2 separate regions of the Homo sapiens genome follow, and region 2 is linked to region 1. Evidence: promoter capture Hi-C in 16 types of primary human blood cells and fetal thymus (Javierre and others, 2016). All regions are on one chromosome and are shown on one strand. The core of a region is centred on a gene start or on the middle of the fragment in contact, and the rest is flanking DNA. Distances in the headings are between cores, read along the strand shown.

The links. The method cuts DNA at HindIII sites, captures the fragments that hold promoters and counts their contacts. A CHiCAGO score of 5 or more calls a contact.
Region 2: a fragment that was not itself captured here is called in contact with the fragment with the promoter of RASL11B in region 1 in 1 of 17 cell types (fetal thymus); the score reaches 6.3 in fetal thymus.

The regions. Positions count from the first base shown.
Region 1 is chr4:52,857,871-52,864,717 of GRCh38, forward strand. It overlaps RASL11B (RAS like family 11 member B), which reads left to right and starts at 4,447. Exons shown (of 4, transcript NM_023940.3): 1 at 4,447-4,779; 2 at 5,398-5,454; 3 at 6,608-6,684. The coding sequence starts at 4,638. It overlaps LOC124900700 (a long non-coding RNA gene), which reads right to left and starts at 4,335. Exons shown (of 2, transcript XR_007058115.1): 1 at 4,214-4,335; 2 at 3,279-3,861. RefSeq lists silencers at 4,011-4,500, 4,472-4,766. The HindIII fragment of the contact is 3,261 bases long and covers 3,752-6,847 here.
Region 2 is chr4:52,703,993-52,710,839 of GRCh38, forward strand. No RefSeq gene overlaps it. Among named protein-coding and RNA genes, the nearest start is that of DANCR, 5.0 kb to the right of the region's middle. The HindIII fragment of the contact is 5,324 bases long and covers 2,661-6,847 here.

The DNA of each region.
Region 1 (6,847 bases), core at 3,197-5,696:
TGGAACCATGAGCCAAGTAAACCTTTTTCTTTTCTTTTCTTTTCTTTTTTCACCTTTTTCTTTATAAATTACCCAGTCTCAGGTATTTCTTTAGAGTAATGTAAGAACAGCCTAACATAGGTGTCAATACATACTACATAAAAGCAACGACAACAGTGGTCTTGAATATGGTCTCAAAGCAATCAATTCAAAAAGAACCTCATTATACCCTTTTATAACTGAAAGTTAAATGTCTACTGGGACATGATCTGTCCTTTTCTGGGCCTTTGTGTTGTTTGGGCTGCTAGAGAAGAGTGGAAGAAATGGTGAATTCACACTGAGTTCCTGTCTATCTGTTTCCAGTGTGTCTTCATGTACTGCCAGGACTAGAAAGGTAAACATGACATTTCCTAGACTCCCTTGCAGCTAGAGTAATAGATAAAATGAATTTCATTAATTAGATGTGCTCAGAGATTTGAAAGGCAGAAGCAAGGAGGAAAGATTCTTTCTGCTGCTTGATTGCTTTCTGCTGCCATGCACAATTGAGATATTGGGCTTCTGTGCAGCAACTTTCCAATGTCTGGTCTCTAGCTTTGTGAGTTTTGAGAGAGAATAACAGAGGCAGCCACTGTGTTCCCCTGATTATGGAAGAGGCAGCAGCTTCCTGCGTGGGCCAGTTCTGCAGTGCTGCTCTGGGAGCCATTTCTGCAGGTCCAGCCTAGAGCCTGCTACTCCAGCCCTTCCAAAGACATTGAAAGCAGGTAATTTCCTGTATTAAATCGTCTTCTGCTTAAAACCACTAAAGAGTGTCTGTTTACTGGATCTAAACAAGCAGAGTTGACAAAAGTCTCAAGAAAAAATAAAGTCTGGTTCTTGCTCAAGGCCTGGATGTTCAGAGAGGGCTGATTTGGGAGCAACTCCTGGTGATGTGGGCAGAGGAGCAGCTCATTTGGCTTCCATGCGGGCATGTTCCCATGGAAGAAGGGAGCACCAAGGCAACTTCTGGAGCTTTTCTTATCAATATGAGGGCTCCTCCACAGAAATCACCAGGGCTTTTCTCTCTGTTCACCCATCAGGAACTATCCTCCGTTCCTTTAATTCATTTTCTCAATGTGAGGCCTTTGCTATATTCACTTATGCTTTCATTTATAATCCACAACTATTTACTGAGCACCTATTGGCAAGTGCTATTCTCTTGCGAACTAACCCATCTTGCCCCCTCCTAACTCCCTGCTCCATACTCCCATGTACATGCACACACATACATGCACACTGTACACAACACACAAACTTCTCAACTCCTTCACCACCCCCTCCTTGACTGCCACAACCCAGGTTTTTAGTCCTAGTTTGTGCTTCTGTAATTCCTGAATTTTCCCTATCAAAGTGTTTTCTCACACTGTATTGAAATTGCTCATTCACTTCAGTCTCTCATGCTAAATGTAGCTGCAGGGATGGCAAAGGTTGCATTTCTTATTTGCCACTGTAGACTCAATACCTAGCATAATGTCTGGTATACACATAGCCCAGACATCCAATAAATATTTATTGAATTCATATTCTGGCATTCTAAGGGCTTCCAGGGACTGAATTGTCTGGGCTAAACCTCTTAAGATCAAAGGAAGTGCTAGAAACTCCAGATGCTGAGGTAAAATTGAACCTTGGCAAAATACTTCTTTCTTTTCTTCCCAAACCCCTCCTCATGTTTCAATTCCCCATCCTCATCTCTTTTAGCTTGACAAAAAAAAAAAAAAAAAAAAAAAAAAAGAAAAGGCTCTGTCCCTTGCAGGATATGTAACTTTGGAAGAGTTTTTTAACCCGAGACTTTGCTTTCTCACTTGTAAAATGGAAGCGTAGTGAATTACAGATGGCCACACATTCTTTGACACCATTCCCACTTAAAGATAGGATCGATGTTCCTGCCCCTTGATCTTTAATCTGGGTGGGCTCTGTGACACTTGACCAATAGAACAGAGCAGAAGTGATGCGGTGCCAATTTCCAAGTGTAGGTCTTAAGAGACTAGCAGCTTCTACTTGGTTTCTTAGAATGCTCACTCAAAGGGAAGCCCGTCACCATGTTGTGAGAGAGCCTGAGCTAGTCCCAGCTGTTCTGCCCATTCCAGCTGACACACAGACATATGAACGAAGATACCATCTTGGATGTCCAGCCTAGTTGAGCCTTCAGATGATAGCAGCCCCAGCTGCCATCTGACTGCAACAACATGAGAGACCCTAGGTAAGCACTCCCCAGCTAAGCCTAGTCAACACACAGAACTGCGAGCCACTAAAGTTTGGGGTGGTTTACTAAGCAGCAATAGATAACGGCAACTAGAAGTAATGGTAATACCTACCTCATAGGACTGTTATGAAGGTAAAATGAGATTTTTAAATGCAAAACCCCTGTGTACAACCTAGAATGAAACAAGCGCTCATTATGTATCGTCACTTCTCCTGCCTTGCCTCCTTCCTCTTTTTAACTCTATGAATGTCCCAGAAGGAGAGGTAGGTGGAGTGGAGATGGGCTATATGCTAGGTATTTGGAATTTGAATAGCTCTCTTTTCTTTTTTACATCTTTCTCTTGCTTCTCTCTTTTCTGTGTTCTTTAAAGCATAGCCAGATCATTTAGATCTAAAATAAGAACACCAAATCAAGCCTTTGCGTTGCAGACAGAAAAATCACGGGTTTTGTATGGGCTTATGGTAATGAAAATCAAGCCCAAGAAACTAAATGATTCAAAGCAAAATTCCCCTTGACAGCTTTTGTCATGTCTCTGTGTGTGTGTGTGTGTGTGTGTGTGTGTGTGTATGTTAAACTAGTACTTTAGCCTACATCATTATTTTACCATGTAAGCATGATAGAATAGCAGGCTTTTTGGAGGGGAAAGATTTTAAAAGTACATGGTTACCTGTAATTACAGTCTTGCAAAGTTTGATTTTATAGAAGTGACATTCAAGTCTGATTTAAACCATGCAGAAAGACATGGTGCATATTGGAAATGCTTTTTCTTTCTGACTCAAATGGCTGTTTCGTTCTAGTGATCTCCCTAGAAGTCAGCCTTTTATTATGTTTATTGTAAGGTTGTGTGTCTTTCTAATTACGTGGCCCATCCTAGAAAACTTGCTACCTTGAGATTACCTTTCTATTTCTCCTTGCATTCCTGCAAACACCTAAACCTCTGTAGACAAGAGGTTCATCTCAGAGTCTGAACTGGCTGAGGATCATAAAATTCTGTCAAATACCTGGTCAATTAAGTTCTGGCTGGAAGAGGGGGTCAAATTAGATGACTGACATGTGCGGATAAGGGCACTGGTTTATTTCACATTTTAGCCTTTAATGTGGGTGGGTACACAAAGCCACAGAGTTTGTTGCCATACCCCAACATAAAAGCCTCTGGGACAAGGTTGAAAGGGTAGCGGGGAGAGGGCCTTGGATAGCGGATGGGGTGGTTAACCCGCGACTCTGGTGACATTTTGCCATCAGCCGCTGGTGACATCTTGCCATCAGCTGCAGCTACAGAATGTTGCTCGCAGGAGGAATTTGGCCTGCCGTTGAAGATGTGTTTCTCAGATGAGACTGTAAGGGGCCGGAGCTTGGGATTTTAGGAGTGCAGGGCCCACCTCTTCCTTGGTATCAAGCCACTTAACTAAACTCTTGCGGTGTCTTATGACCAGGGACGAAGTGCGGGGCCCCTTCAGACGTCGCAGCTGGAGTAACTGTTTTCTTTCCATTTCACAGCTCTTGAAGGAGGTGTGACTGAGTGAGGCGCTGGAAAGCTTGTTCTATAATTACTTCTTGATCCGCTTCTAGGCGTGCTGTGCATGCGTCCGACCATGTGTGTTTGCGTTAGCTTGCGCCGTCGACAAGAGCCAGAGAACGTGGGTCTAGGATAAAACGTGGATGATATTTTTGCTTCAAATGTCACATTTTACGGGGGTCTAAAGGTCTTAGGCTGGAGTCTTTGCGGATGATTGCCAACTGTAGCTGAATCTATGAGCTGGGATGTACCCAAGCCAGTGCAATCGCTCCAAATCAGGGCGGGCGGCACTAAGCCGGGGAGCAAACACCGCTCCCGGCCCGCCCAGAGCAGACGCCCTAGGTTGGGGCTGCAGCGAGTGCGCGCGTGGGCTGTGGAGCCGGCGGAGGCAGCGGTCCGGAATGGCTCTGTGGAGGCTGCGCTCTCTTCCTGGCCCCGCAGCCACAGCAGCTGCCCCATGCTCGCGCGGCAGGACCTACCAGGCGCCCACCCTGGGCTGCGCCGCCTCGGACCACCCGCTGCTCCCCTCCGCCCGCTGCCTCTTCTCCCCGCGCCTCACGGGGCTCCGCACTGACTCCAGGCGCCTCCGGGGGCGTCGCGCGCGCGGAGCGGCGCCGGGGGCGGGGCCTCGTGTAGGGCGCCCCGGGATTGGCTGTGGGGAGAGGGGGCGGGGCCGGCCGCGGAGAAAACAGCCGGCGCGCCGCGCGAGTGCAGTCTGGGTCTGGAGCCTGAGCCCTGCGGAACCTCGGCGCTCGGCCCCACCCCGCCCGTACCTGCACTTATTTATTGTTGTTATTTCTTACCGCGGAGCCCCGCAGTCGGGTCCTCCCGCCCGCTCCCGCGCAGCGCTAGCATTCTCCAGTCCCTCAGTCCCTTCCCGCGCGGTGCGCCGCAGCCGAGGCGATGCGCCTCATTCAGAACATGTGCACCATCGCCGAGTACCCCGCGCCGGGCAACGCCGCGGCCTCCGACTGCTGTGTGGGCGCCGCCGGCCGCCGCCTGGTCAAGATCGCCGTGGTGGGCGCCAGCGGCGTGGGCAAGACCGGTGAGTCGTCGCGCTTAGCCCTGGGTCTGGTCTTGGACGACCCCTGACGGGAGTTGAGGCTGAACAAGGCGTGGGGAGCGGTGGGAGCTGCAGCCCGACCGCTCTCCGTCCCCGCGCAGGGAGCCGCTGCCCCTTGGGAGTGGGCTTAGCCGTTGTCTACGCCACCCGCCTGCTTCCACAGACGGGGGAAACAAGGATCAAGAATGGCCAGGCAGCTTTCTGGGGACCACCGGCACCGCCGCCATCAGAACTTTGGGGTGTTTGAGCCTCTGGCAATGCCTGGCACAGAAAGGGGAGTTAGTGAAGCTAGCCCCCCTGGGAGGTCTTGAAGGTTAGGAAGACATGGGTCTACTGGAAGGCTTAGGTGTGGCTCAGCCGGGCTCAGAGGAGGGGGTGGGCCCAGTGAGCCTTCCAGCTGCACAGAGCCATAATTCACGATGCCTTCTAGCCCCCTCCTTTTTGTCTGGAAAGAAGGGTCAAGGAGCTACAGGGTAGGAATTTCACTTGGTGGCCATCTATGGCTTTCTTTGGGAGAACTGTTTTCCAGGCAGGGGGTGGGGTGGAGAACAATCTAACTTCCAAGGTTAACACTTTGACGTTCTTTTTTCTGACGTGCAGCACTGGTGGTCCGGTTCCTCACCAAACGATTCATCGGTGACTATGAAAGAAATGCAGGTGAGACAATGCATTTGAGAAAAATTCTGTCCCATTGCAGGAGGACTGCGGTTCCCATTTTCCAGCGCTTCCCAGGGAGGTTCTTTCAGTGACAGTCCGAGCCTGAGGATCCCGCCACTTAAAACTTTCCCCAGTCCCCAGCCCTCCATGGCGCCCCCCTCCCATAACTACCATCTGGCCTCATTCCATTCCAAGCCCATTCATCATTTTATCAAGTGCCTGAAAGTATTCCCCTTGGTATGTTTTAACTATAGTGACCCCAGTTGGAAGCACCCTTTGTAGTCAAGAACCTCTCCCTTCAAAACACTCCTGCAAAAGTCGTAAAAAAAAAAAAAAGGAGTCCCTAGCTCCTTCCCCCACCCCTCTCCTTCTCTGCTGGCTGCCTTTCAGAGGTGACCTTTTAAAGCAAAGGCCAAAGGAGAGCAGTTGTAAACCTAAAGTTCCTCCTTCTTAACAAAGACAAACAACTGGATGGTAGAATTTTAGGAGGAGAATTCCCGAATAAATGAGAGGACACATTTTTCAATCCTTATGATTAAGAATAGCCACTGGGGAGGCTTAAGAGCTTTCTGCCTATGCTCTGTTAGCAAATTGCTTAACTCTGTAGACCATATGAGTACCTATAGGGGATTATTTGAAATGAGCTGTATAAGCTATCCCAAGATAAGACATGGCAGCCTTCTGATTTGATGTAGAGTTGATTATAATTATATCACATTTTTATTCCAACTGATAACATTGGCTGTGTGTTTACTAACAGTATTTGTCTAGCAAGCCATTATATCTAACGGCCAAAATACAAAGTTACAGTCAAAGAATGAATCAAGTACTCAAGAAAACAGAAACCTCACATAGGCTGAGCAAGATAATTTGCATCAAGGGAGTACTCTAAAAATGGAAACTTTGTTTAAAACTAGATAAATAAGTTTTCAAAAACTTGCAAACTTTGCCCTGGTTTTAATAAATCTAACATAGGGTTAAAATTGCTGTTGTTTTTTAAAAAAAATCTGAAGTAAGCCCACCAAATAGAAATAAACTATCGCTGTTTTGTGTGCATTTATGCATTGTGCATTTTTTTTCTAGCTTAAAACTCACAATGTTTTAAAAGTTGTACAAGAAGGAAGAACATAATCTCTTTTATTTGCCTTCATAGGTAATCTCTATACTAGACAAGTTCAGATAGAAGGTGAAACCCTGGCTCTTCAGGTTCAAGACACTCCAGGTATTCAGGTGAGAAGCTCTGAGACTCTGGGTGAAAGGGGAACCTACTTGGCTGTGGAATCACTCACTTCTTCTCAAAGTTCCTCATGCTGCAGGATCAGAGAAATTTGGGGAGTCACATCTAGACTTTTACATGTCTGACAATTCAATTGTATCTGGCTGTTGGTCGATC
Region 2 (6,847 bases), core at 4,073-6,572, 150 kb before region 1:
GCCCAGGAGTTCAAGGTTACAGTGAGCCATGATTATGCCACTGCACTCCAGCCTGGGAAAGACCCTGTCTTTAAAAAAGCTAAAAATTAAAAATAAACCCACTTGTAACGGCTGCTAATCAGAGTGTATATTCAGGATAACTTGAATCTTTGCTCCTGGGTGGCCACCCTCAAACTTTGAGCTCAAATAAATTCTATACTTAAAAATATTTTTTGAATCTTGTTATTTAAAGTTGACAACACACACACATACACACACACACACACACACACTCACACATACACACGTATGTCTATGACTAAATGCTGAATCTTTGGCCAGGGAACTAACCCAAATTACCACATCTTTGTTATGGGACATGCCATCTGTTTTTAGCCATTGATTTTACTATTACAGCAGAGTGTAGCCTATCTGCTTCACAATCAGTTAAAAGTCCAATTTCTTCCCCAAGTTTCACCTGCATGACAGATAACTCTCTTGCCAAATGATAATTGGGACTTGAAAAACATTTTGTTTTAATTGAGTTCAAGCAAGCAAATCATCTTGGCTAGGCATCAAAAATCCTGGACACCCAAAAGCTAGAGAGATTAAAAACATTTTTTTTCTTTTTTTTTCTTTTTTTAACACACCTATTTTCCAAGTAAAAAACTATTCTCTTTAGATTATCGGTATTGAGGAGGTTGGTTATAGTACCCTCTTTATAAAGACCCACGGAAGAAATTTCTTTCAGGAATATTTGTGTTTCTCTTGAGTGTCATTTTTTTTTTCTATTTTCTGATGTTTTACATTGACTGCCAGGCAGCTCAGAGCAAAATTTTTGGCCTTCCTCCAGCAAGTATTCCCCATGGTTTTATTTTGTGTACTAGCCCTGGACTTTAATCATATTTTCCCTGCACTCCAACTTTCTCACTGTTCTTTGAAAATCTCATTGTAATGTATTTGTGTAAATTACACTCAAATCCTTTTTGGACTAAACTGGGCTGTAAATAATAAATAAATGACCAGGTGCGATGGCTCACACCTGTAATCTCAGCACTTTGGGAGGCTGAGGCAGACGGATCACTTGAGGTCAGGAGTTTGAGACAAGCCTTTCCAATATGGTGAAACCCCGTCTCAATTAAAAATACAAAAATTAGCTGGGTGTGGGGGTTCCTCCCTGTAATCCCAGCTACTTGGGAGGCTGAGGCAGGCGATCGCGTAAACCCAGGAGGCAGAGTTTGCAGTGAGCCGAGATGGCACCACTGCCCTCCAGTCTCCGCGACAGAGAAAGACTCTTTCTCAAAACAAAAACAAAAACAAAAACAAAACGCAATGAATAAATAATAAATCACAAATAATCATCAATAAATACAAAAAGTAGAAATTAAAAAGCACAAATAAATTGCAAATACAAGTTGTTTTCAAGTTCTTGGTTAACTCCATTTCACTATTAACATGTACTACTTCCCTCTCCCTTTATACAGGGATATCTGAAGCTCTCTTCTGATATTTATCAACGATAAATATGCTGGTTTTTTACCACGCAAATGAAATTAAATTAGAGAGGGTAGAACTAAGGGGGGTTTAGTTTTGTTATTAGGGCTTTCCAACATTGGGGAAAAAAAGTGACTTAAATGCAGGTCTGAAGAAGACATTGGGATTAATGTGTTTGTGTGCAAGACTAAAAAAGAGGACGAGCATGTGATGTATATTTATCCCAAAGAGGGTGGAGAAAGGTGGCATTAAACTGTTCCTAGATGACTTCTCAGCAGCTTTATTGTCCAGAGAGCTTTGTGGCTGCTCAGAGTGTACAAATGGCAATTTTTATTTTGAGTTTGTGGACGTCAGGAAACCTTTCTGCCCATTGACCCCTCATCTCTGAATCTCTAAAACCAATCTTATGTTATATAGTGGAGGTTCCTGGGGCTCAGAAGCAAGCTTCCCTACCCCCAACTCCCCGTATTTGGCTGAGACCTTCTGTCTAGTTCTGGAAACTGGATTTTTCTCCTAGTGACCTATCAGGTCACTTATAGTCCTACCTGCTTTCAACAAGCTCACCCCACAGCAGAGGTCAGGTTGTTGAATCTCAGTTTGGTGGCTTGGGCCTCTCTTTCTGCTACTGTTCTTAGATAGCACAGACCCAGGAATTCAACAGCTGGCAACCCATTCCCACCTCTGCCTGTTTTTCAGCACTCAGTGGGTACCTCTTCTTGGGCAAGTTATTCAATATCTCTGGGTCTCAGTTTCCTATCTGTAAAATGAAGATCATCTAGTACATATATCTCAGTGTTAGTATGAGGAATCAAAAGAGACAATGCAAAAAAAAAAAAAAAAAAAAGCTTAGAACAGTGCCTGGCACAAATACTAGGTGTACAGTAAACTGGGCCGTTGCTGATGATTAAGGAAGAAGCCCTTGTGTAAGCATGGAGTTTCCTCCTTAGCTGTGCTGTGCTAAGGATGGTATTAAAGGATAGCCAACAATTCCCCTTTCTAGAGCATCTGAGCAGCCAAGGTAGATTTACCCTAAAACTGTTGAAGTAAAGTTTAGGTGTCAATTTCTTTATTTGCATGGGCCTCACCTAGGGCCCAAGAGGGGCTCTAACAATGTGTCCATGGGGTTGCATATTTTTGTAAAATTTTGCATTGTTTCTTTTAAGAAGAAGGACCACCCAAATTGTATAAGCTTTCACACCTCACAAAGGCTGGCTCCATTCCGGTATCCAAGTCACATGACACCTCTGGAGCCGCCAATACATGAGGTGGGTGCTGCCAGTAGTAGATTGATAAATAGATATAGAATTATAAATATGATCATACATGTACAAAAGGATGATTTGCAACACTGAATTTTGGGCCGGGCACAGTGGCTCATGCCTGTAATCCCAGCACTTTGGGAGGCTGAGGCAGGTGGATCACGAAGTCAAGACATTGAGACCATCTTGGCCAACTTGGCGAAACTCGTCTCTACTAAAAATACAAAAATTAGCCAGGCGTGGTGGCGGGCGCCTGTAATCCCAGCTACTCAGGAGGCTGAGGCATGAGAATTGCTGGAACCTGGTAGGCAGAGGTTGCAGTGAGCCCAGATCGTGCCACTGAACTCCAGCTCTAGCGACACAGCAAGACCACGTCTCAAAATAAATAAATAAATAAATAAATAAATAAATAAATAAAATAAAACACTGAGTTTGTTACTTATTTAGATAAGCCAACTTGTTTTAAAATAAAGAATATAAATTTCCTTCTATCTTTAGAATTGAATTGGAACTTGTACAATACCCTTAATAATAATAATTTGATCTAACCCCCCAAAATGCCTCCCTCACCTTGCTGCTTAATCAAATTTCACAACATCCTGTTATTTTTGCAAATTAGTTACTGTGCAGAATATAAACTATGTCTTGGCTCCAGGCTATGTTGTCTCCTCTATTCATTCTGGTGGCTTTTTGGGCCTTACCCTACCACCAGAACTCTATACCCTATAACTGACTTCCACAGCTGAGCACACTAAGATCTGCAGAAATTGCATCCCATAGCTCAGCAAAACACATTTTGCCATGAATTTAAAATAACCTCTCAGGTAATTGTCATCTTTTTTTCAGTAAAGAAAAAATTGCCAAAATTTAGAAAAGAAATACAATAGCCAAAAAATGAAAACATTCGTTCTTAATAGAATATTTGATAGAACAAAACCTTGATGCTAAGGACCAAACGAGATGTCATCTGAGTCACCCAACATATCCATATACTTCTGCAGATGCTTCTAGTGATTCCAGGTGACCTTCTCTGTACACCTAAGGCCCCTTTTCAGACTCCAGCCCTAGCTAGGAGTCAGGCAGGGGATGGAGAAGAGGTGATTGTCGTGGTGCTAGGACCATGTCTGCTGTGGGGGTGGGAGGGTAGACACAGGAGACAGCAGTGGAGGCATCACAAGAGATCATTCTTCTGCTTTCAGGTTGGTTGTTGCCTATGCCATGCCTACTGCCCGCTCTTGTGTTGTAGACAAGGGAGTGTCTCTAACTGTGGAAGGTGGGGGCTCTCCTTTTTTGTAAAACGCTATACTTTATTCCGATATCGTGTTCTTGAAGTTACTTACAAAAGGCTAATATAGCCCTTATTTTGTTTTCTGTAATGAAAATTATTATATCAGTAATACATGCTCTTTGTAAAGAATTTGAATGATACCTCAAAAATATTTTTAGAAAGTAAGACACATGAAATCCCATCACCTTGAGAGAAATACCACTGACATTGTAGTAACCATATTTTCACACACACACACACACACACACACACAAACTATACTTGTACATGTATATACATAGAATACTATACATATATACATACTATACTATAAATATATACATAGTATGTATGTATTTATATTATATAGCTACATACATATAGTTATTTAAGATTACAAGATACAAGTGGTTTTATCATAGATATTTTCTCCTTCCCTCTCACTCCTCTCCCCCATATCCTTCATCCCCTACCCTCTGGATTACCATATTAACAGCAGGTTGTGAGTGTAGATAGGTCTAGGGATAAGTAGGAGTTAAGGAAAAAAGAACAGGTGACAGGCAGCCCAGACGAAGAGAACACCACATGCAAAGGCAAGGAAGCAAGAGCTTATTAGAGCTGTGGCTCTTGAAACTTTAATGTGCATACAGATCACCTGGGGATCTTGTTGAAATATAGATTCCGAATCAGCAGATCTGGGATGAGGCCTGAGATTATGCATTACTACAAGTTTCCAGGGAATGCCCAGGCTGATGGACCACGCTTTGAGAAGCAAGGATGTAAACTATTGTGCAGTTCAATGTAGTATCTACCAGCCACATGTGACTTTTATTTTTATCTATTTATTTATCTTAGATGTCTTGCTCTGTCACCCAGTCTGGAGTGCTGTAGTGCCATCATAGGTCACTGCAGCCTTGAATCCTGAGCTCAAGTGATCCTCTTGCCTCAGCTGCCTGAGTAGCTGGGACTACAGGCCTGTTCTGCCATGCTTGGCTAATTTTTTTTTTCTGTAGAGATGGAGTCTTGCTATATTGCGGCAGCTGGAGTGCAGTGGCTATTCACAGGCACTGTCTGAGCACACTGCAACCTCAAACTTCTGGCCTCAAGGGATCCTCCCACCTCAGACTTCTGCCCACGTAGCTGGGATTATAGGCATACCACCACCAGGCCCAGCATGACTATTTAAATTTAAATTAGTTAAAAGTAAATGAAGTTTAAGATCCAGGTCTTGTGTTGTGCTAGTCACATTTCAAGTACTCAATAGCCACATGTGGCTACCATACTGGACAGCAGAGATATAGAACATTTCCATCACTGCAGAAAGTTGTATGGGAGAGTGCTGGACAGCATTCAGGGGACTGCCATTAGTTCAGCATGGTTGGATTATAATAGGTATGTGGGAAGTGAGAGGAGGAAGTAGATAGGTGGAGGTTGGTTTTGTTTCTGGTGGCAGTAAAGAGCCATTTAACAATTTCCAATGGAGATGACAGCAGTGTGGAAGAATTCATGGGGAAGGGAACACTGGAGACAGGGAAGCTGAATGAAGGTGGAGGCTACTGCAGTGGATGATGCTGAAAGTAAATGATGGAGCTAGAACTAAAGTACAAGCAAGGGCTGGAAAGAAGAGGCAGAGTCATGGTGGTCAATAGGAAGAACTGCCCGCATGGAAGAAGATGAGGAAGTAGGAGGCTGAGAAATGGAGGAGGAGACTGAGAAAGGAAAGCATTTGCGCTAAGTCCTGGACAGCTGGGCTAAGGAATTGTTATTCTTCAAGACAGAGGACACAAAAAGGAAGTGGAGGGGTGGAAGAAGAGAATAAATTCTGGGCCAAAAGAGTGATTTTGTGGTGTCTCTGGGAAATCCAGCTGAGAATATCTGGAGGGCTGGTGGGTATTCTTCTAGGTCCCTTTATTCAACTTCCGACAGATTAAATTTGGAGAGACTGAACTCCCTCAAATTGGACAGATTGGCCAGTCGTGGTGGCTCACATCTGTAATGCCAATGCTTTGGGAGGCTGAGGTGGGAGGATCACTTAAGCCTAGGAGTTGGAGCCTGACCCGTGAGCTATGATTGTGCCACTGCACTCTAGCCTGAGTGATAGAGTAAGACCCTGTCAAAGGGAAAAGAAAGGGAGAGGGAGAGAGACGAGAGAGAGAGCAAGAAAGAGAGAGAGAGAGAAAAGAAAAGGAAGGAAGGGAGGGAGGGAGGGAAAGAAAAGAAAGAAAGAAAAGAAAGAAAGAAGGATTGATTAGACATACTAATTTCTCTAAAAAAATTAGGCCTAATAATAAACCCAATTGAAACAATTCTCTTTAAACTGCATTATAAGGATTTTTAGTACCAAATATATATTATCTTGAACCTAACTCAAAAGCAATTATAAATCAGTTTATTTTGTTCTATTGTCTCTGTATTTAATAGACATTTCTCCTCTAAGCCCAGTGAACAGTTTTACTATTTCGAATGAACTGTTTGTAAGTTCATTGAATTGAGGTATTTGGCCAGAAATGTGAAGCCTTCAGATTAAGGTGAATTTCTCTTAAATCAAACACAAATATAATTCTTTCATAATTCCTTCCCATTTTTATCCCCTGATTTGGGGAGGAGGGAAGACATTCTGCACAACTACCCCCAGCCCCTGCTAGGTTGCTGCTGAATTCCTGCATTAGTCTCTTTACTAAGGAGATTTACTTCTCTTTTCCTATATTTTCCCATGTTGCCTGACCACATGCATTGCCATAGTTAAAGGAAAGGTAATATCTCTCAGCTATCCAAAGGGACTATAAAAAGAACAGATTCCAACTAGAGATATGTTTGGAAGACTCTTGAGAAAGGTGAAGGGACAACA